2 separate regions of the Homo sapiens genome follow, and region 1 is linked to region 2. The links are contacts of gene promoters, found by promoter capture Hi-C in human tissues and cell types (Jung and others, 2019). All regions are on one chromosome and are shown on one strand. Each heading gives the region's core, a stretch centred on a gene start or on the middle of the fragment in contact. The rest is flanking DNA. Distances are from core to core; before and after follow the strand shown. Region 1 has its middle 250 kb from the start of LINC02871. Region 2 holds the start of SNAP25 (synaptosome associated protein 25).

Evidence for each region. Contacts are between HindIII fragments. The study calls those that stand out against the background at their distance.
Region 1: a fragment that was not itself captured here is called in contact with the fragment with the promoter of SNAP25 in region 2 in 1 of the 25 tissues and cell types used here (dorsolateral prefrontal cortex).

The regions. Positions count from the first base shown.
Region 1 is chr20:11,274,378-11,277,304 of GRCh38, reverse strand. No RefSeq gene overlaps it. Among named protein-coding and RNA genes, the nearest start is that of LINC02871, 250 kb to the right of the region's middle. The HindIII fragment of the contact is 6,189 bases long and covers 1-2,927 here.
Region 2 is chr20:10,217,002-10,220,200 of GRCh38, reverse strand. It overlaps SNAP25 (synaptosome associated protein 25), which reads right to left and starts at 1,371. Exons shown (of 8, transcript NM_130811.4): 1 at 1,224-1,371. SNAP25-AS1 (SNAP25 antisense RNA 1) reads left to right here and starts at 695. Exons shown (of 5, transcript NR_040710.1): 1 at 695-964. The HindIII fragment of the contact is 5,357 bases long and covers 1-3,199 here.

The sequences.
Region 1 (2,927 bases), core at 233-2,732, 1.1 Mb before region 2:
GGAGGTCCCAGTAACCCATATGGAAACTACAGAGTGGGGACAAACAAGCCTCTGAGCTGAGCACAGGGCATTACTGGGTCTCAGCTGAGCATAGGGCATTATGGGTTAAGTCGTTCCAGTCTCCACACACAGTGTCTGGAATTGTGGATCTGTGAAAGCTTTTAACAACTGGTCCCGGGACAAAACTAAACCAATGAGCTAATAAAAAGGAAACGAAGTAGTGGAGGGTAGTGGGAGGGGTGATAATTTTTCAAGAAAACCTCCAAATTAGTATTTTGCAAATGTAGTTAAAGTGGAAGAAACCTTTTTTTGAGTCAAAATTCATAAATTAAATTCCAAGACTCTGCTTGAGGGGACTCTGGGGCAGCCCCAAACTTCTTCCACCCACCCCCTACTCCCTGCAGCACCTGAAGCATGCCCCAGATCCCTGAGGCTCTGCAGACCCCAGCTCAAATCTCCATTCAGTAGAAAATCAATGTCAAAGAGCTTTTCCCAGGTCTTTCAGATAGTAGAATTATATGTGAAAAAGTCACCTGGCAATGTTAGTTTACGTTCAAAACCTCAAAGGAAAGACATTGAGAAACCAATACAAATGAGAAAAAAAAAAAAAAACAACCTTAATTCAAACAAAAACAGCAAGCCCTGAAATCTAAATTCTAAGGCAGAGTGTAAATGAATGTCTAAATGCAACAGAAACATAGTTTTTATTATAAATGTCCACATGAATTGCCAGCTTTAAATAAACCATATATATATGTATACAAATTTGTATAAGGAGAATAATCAACTAATAATTTACTTTGTGACAATGTGGGATTTTTATAAATGTGTTGGTTATTTCTTTGTACAACTCGACTAAAGAATTTACTGAGAATTCTTTACATGCAGGCTCCCTTGCTATATCAGCAATTACTAAATTTCCAAGCATTGAATCCACAATCAATAATTCAGAAAAACTCAGAATGCCTTCATCAGGGCTAAGCCATGCTATATAGCTAGTATTTTAAAGATACAACTTTAAGCCTAATTTGTTTAAAAGAGTTTATTGCTTATAGACTTAATTTTTCCATGGGGGAAAAGAAAGAGAGCCCTGAATATAGAAATGACAATCATTAAAAAAGAAAAAAGAAAGAAGAAAAGAAAGATGAGAGAAAGAGAAAAAAGAAAAAAAGAGAGAGAGAAAGAAAGAGAGAGAGAGAAAGACAGACAAAGGAGAGAGGAAAGGAGGGAGGGAGAGAGAGAAGATGGAAAGAAGGAAGGGAGCGAGGAAGAAAAGAAACAAGAAAGGAAGGAAGAAGAAAAGAAAAGAAAGAGAGAAGAAAGAAAAAGAAAGAGAGCGACAGAAAGAGAGAGAGAGAGAAAGACAGACAAAGGAGGGAGAAAGGGAGGGACAAAGAGAAGAAGGAAGGAAAGAAAGAAGGAACCAAGGAAGAAAGGAAAGAAGAAAGGAAGGAAGGAGAAAAAAGAAAAAAGAAGGAAGGAAGGAAGAAAGGAAGCAAGAAAGAAAGAAAGGAAGGGAGGGAAAGAAAGGAGGGAGGGAGGGAGAGAAGGGAGGAAGGAAGGAAGCAAGGAGGAGGGGAGGGAGGGAAGAGAAGAGGGAGGGAGGTAAGGAAGGGAGAGAGGGAGGGAAGTAAGGAAGGGAGGGAGGGAGGGAGAAAAAAAGGAAACCAGTTTTTGTTGTTGTTTTTGAGGTGGAGTCTCGCTCTGTCACCCAGGCTAGAGTGCAGTGGCGTGATCTTGGCTCACTGCAACCTCTGTGTCCCGGGTTCAAGCGATTCTCCTGCCTCAGCCTCACGAGTAGCTGAGAGTACAGGTGCCCGCCACCACACCTGGCTGATTTTTGTATTTTTAGTAGAGACAGGGTTTCACCACGTTGGCCAGGCTGGTCTTGATCTCTTGACCTCAGGTTATCCACCCACATCATTCTCCCAAAGTGCTGGGATTACAGGCATGAGACACTGAGCCCGGCCAAAACCAGTTATTTTTTTCAGCCACTTTGCAACCCATTTTGAGAATATACTGGCAATTACACTGTTTTTAATAATGTTGTAGCCACACATGGATAAACTGGTTCATGGTTTACTTACAGTCCGAGTCCCAGGCAACTGTGGATACCTTTACAAAGTTTAAACCCTCTCCATATCCCAAGTGGTATTTTTACTTTTGCACTGGAGCATATAAGAAAAGGTAGGATATGGCAGAATTGCATAAGAATCACCTGGGCGTTTGCTCAAAATTCCGACTCCAAGGCCTCACTGAAGATCACCAGAATCTGAGAGACCTCCAGGTGTAGGCTGCACTATCACTGCCTCCTGAAAGGTCCTGTGGGGTGAGGATGGTGATTAAAAACTGGAGTCCTCAGCGGGACAGCACTAACCTGCCTCCAGTGTAGCTAGTTAACATCTGTAGATTTCACTTTCTTCTAACTCTACGAAGACAAGACCCCAAGTTCCTGTTATACAGAGAAAGTTGTGATTTTGTATATATTTTATTCATTTTGCTTAAAATCCTAAAATCTGACAAAAGGAAACAGGAAATATTTTATTATGGCCTACTCCAATTAATCTAAAGTGGGTTTCAGCTTGATTAAGATAACTTGGAGAGTTGGTTAAATCTTTGTCTTGCCTGAGTAACTTGCATATGTATATTTTCTAAACTTTTGGACATGAATTTCAAGTAGCAAATTCTATTCATCTTAATGGATTCTTTTCTTGGAAGATGTCAGTGGTTCTTCAGAACATTCCACACGAACTCTGTGTCCAAATCATTAACAGCAGTTTTTACTATGGGCACATAAGACAGAAATAAATCTGTTTTAATTACCTGTTTGGATTCTGATACCACGGCTGTTTGCCAAACCTTACTGATACTTCTTGTATTACCTCTTTGAACATATCTGGTGTAGAAACTGGTGTATCTCTTTTGCA
Region 2 (3,199 bases), core at 122-2,621:
TTGATTCTGCTTAGTTCAGCTAATCTCACATTTTTATCAAATGGAAACATAGAGAGAGATGTATCATCCCTATAAACAGATAGCATTGGCTTCTTCATATATACAGTACTTATGCTCACCCAAGATCTGTAGACAGATCTACTCTGTGTTAAAAAACAAAACCAAACAAAAACCTTGATACCCTGCTGGAGGATAAATCCATATTTTTTAAAAAATGTATTTATTTTCTACGTAAAATAAGGGTCAGAGGGCAACACAGAAGATTTCCACAAGTAGACTATTTTGTTGAAGCTATGCAGGAGGTGAGGAGGGGAACAGGAAATTGTCTGCAAAGGAGTCTCTGTGAGGAAGATTTATTTCTTTCTTGTTTTCTTTTAAGCTACTATGACTCCTCTATTAAGGGTCTCCGTAAGACCGGGGTCTCAGGGAGACAATTTGGTCTCCAGCCCTGGCACATCCAGCCCCGGCCAGGCATTTCTGCCGCAGGCAGATGAGGCGCTGCGGCCGGACCGCTGTCCCCGGTGCTGAAAGGTCGAGGGCGCCCGCGCGAGCCCTCGGTGTTGCTATCCAGGGTGCTGAGCGCGGGCCGCCGCAGTCCCCGAAGCCAGCCCACCCGCGCCAGCCCTCCGCAGAGCCCTCCCACCCGGCACGACCCGCCCGCCTCCCGCCAGCCTGCAGTTGACGTGGAGCAGGCGGCATAAATCAAGTCCGCGGGGCATGGAGGCTGCTGTCGCTGCAGCAGCTCAGCTTGCCCGGGGCGGGAACTCCCCCTTTCTCCTTTCGCCTCCCCAGCACCCACACCCTGTCTCCCCCTTAATTCTTCCCTGGATAATAGCACCCTAACGACAACAGTCATAATAATAGGGTTAGAACGACAGGGGAGGAAAACTCAACAGCCTAAATATCTCTGAAAACTGCATCGCAAAATGGAAGAAAGAGGGGGTCCCACTACTGTTTCAAAAGAGTAAGTTATTATTCGGTACGTACCCTCGCTCTTCCTCCCCGTCGCTCCATTTGCAGGGCTCCCGTTTCCCTTTTCCCCAGCAGCTCACCTCGAAAACACTTTATAAAGCCCCCACCAGACGTGCACACACGGAATACCGCACCCTAAGTGCACCAATACTTGTATTTACCCAAGCCCACTCGGACTGCCCAGCTGCTGTCCCTTCTGGGTATGCAGCCATCCCGAGCCAGAGCCACGACCTGGGGAGGGGGGTTCTTACCTGGGCTTCTCGGGAGGGTTGTGTTCTCCGGGCCTCTGCAGGTTGCAACTGTGGTGGAGCCGCCGAGCAGGGAGGGAAGGAAAGACAGCGCCTGACCTCCCCGAGGTTTCGTCTTCAATGCAACGTGAGCTCTGCCCTCATCAAAGATGGCCGTCCGTTTTGACGTCAGCAGCTTTTAATAGCCGCCCAGCGAGGGGCGGGAGGAAGTGGGGGCGGGGCACGGCGGGGGCGGGGGCGGGGCCCGGGCTGCGGCGCGCTTGACTCGGTTCCCAGTGCGCTGGCCTGCAAACCTGCGTGTTTTCACCTTCTATAAACACCCGCACGGGGCGACTCTTATGACTCCATTTTAACACTCGGTCTTGGGCAAACGCGTTCATCCCGCAACTGCATTCCTGATGTTCTTTGGTGTGTGTGCGTGTGTGTGTACATATGTGTATATGTGTGTGTATGTATATATGTATGTGTGTGTATATTTTATAATACATGTATAATATATGTATAATTTGTGTGTATGTGTATATATTCCCCCCCACCCCCACCCCCACCCCCTTTCAGTGGAATCTGTGGTTGAGTCATCTAAGGAGAGGGGAAGGCAGAGGAGGGGTAAAAGGTAGTGATGGGAGGGGTGGGGGAAATTTCAGCGGCGATTTGTTTTCTCCGAAGAGGGTCCGTAGGGGCATCCCCGTCCACCCTCGCCAGCTCCATATATGGCCAGGCTACGTGGGTTGCTATTTTTATGAGTGATTGCTTCATGTTATCGAAGCAGCGTCGAGGGCTTGTGGCTCTCGTTGCTGTGGTCAGCCGGGCAGCGAGGCTGGCGCACGTTATTTTGAACTACGTCAGAGCCAGGCTCTCTGAGCTGTTGCAGGAGTCGGGGGAAGGAGAAGGGAAGCGGAGTTAGCCCAGCCAGCGTGGGTTTGCAAGGACTCGAGGCTTGAAGTTGAGTTGTTTGCCGAGGGCAAAAACGGATGACTCTGCTTTCGGTGGAATTTGCAGTCGGTGCTGGGGTTTCATGCTGGGTGTCTTAGGGGTACCCCACGGAGGCACAGACGCCCCGAGGGAACCGTCCAAACGGCCGGGAGGAGGTGGGGGATTCAGAGCAAGGACGGCTGGGACACGGCCGAATCTGGGGGTTCACTCAGTGCGCAAACCCCGGGGTACCCGTGCAGGCTGCCTCGGGGGGCCCTCGGATGCTCAAATCAGGGCGGGGAGACAAAGGCTACTTGTGCTGGTCGTATTAGAGATTAAAAGTGATAATTATAAAGCAACAACCCTAACTGTCCTCCCTGGCCGTGCCCGGGCCCGGGAAGGGGGTGGTGCGCGGATCGCTCGGCGGTGGCAGCCTCCCGGATGATTCACAGGTGTTGGGGAGGCTGTCGCGGGGCTCTCCGCAGGGAGGGAGGGCTGGGGAGCGCGTGGGAGGTGGGGGACCTCGTCTGAGGAACTGTTTGTACTTTTCCGGGAAGGATGCGATTAGAAGTCGTGCCTCGCAATGTTAAAACTTGATGGCCTCTTTTAGGCTATGGAAAATCCTTGTCTCGCTTAGGAGAAACCATTTAGAGCTGGGTTCGGAAAAGCGGCGTACAACCTCTCCCCTTGCACCCTCGCCCCCCACCCCCGCCCCACCACACACACACACACACACACACACACACACACACACACATCCCTAGCTGGCCTGAGAGCCAAGCTTAGGCAATAATACGGCCTTTGATTGCGCTCCATTGCGGAGGGAGGGAAGCGGGGTAGGGGGAAGGGAAGAAGAGTTGTGAAGGCGCTGCGTTTAGAAAGAGACGGGTTGTTAAGAATTTAATAAAGGATACCTTTAATCGAAATTAGTAGACATAATTGTTTCTTAAAGATTCCCTGGCCTGAAGGCTTTTTTTTGACGTATTGATGTTTTTGCCATAATAATTAACAGTGTTTGGATGTTAATTAAAGCCAAATTCCTAAAAAAGGCATGTTGCTGAAATTTG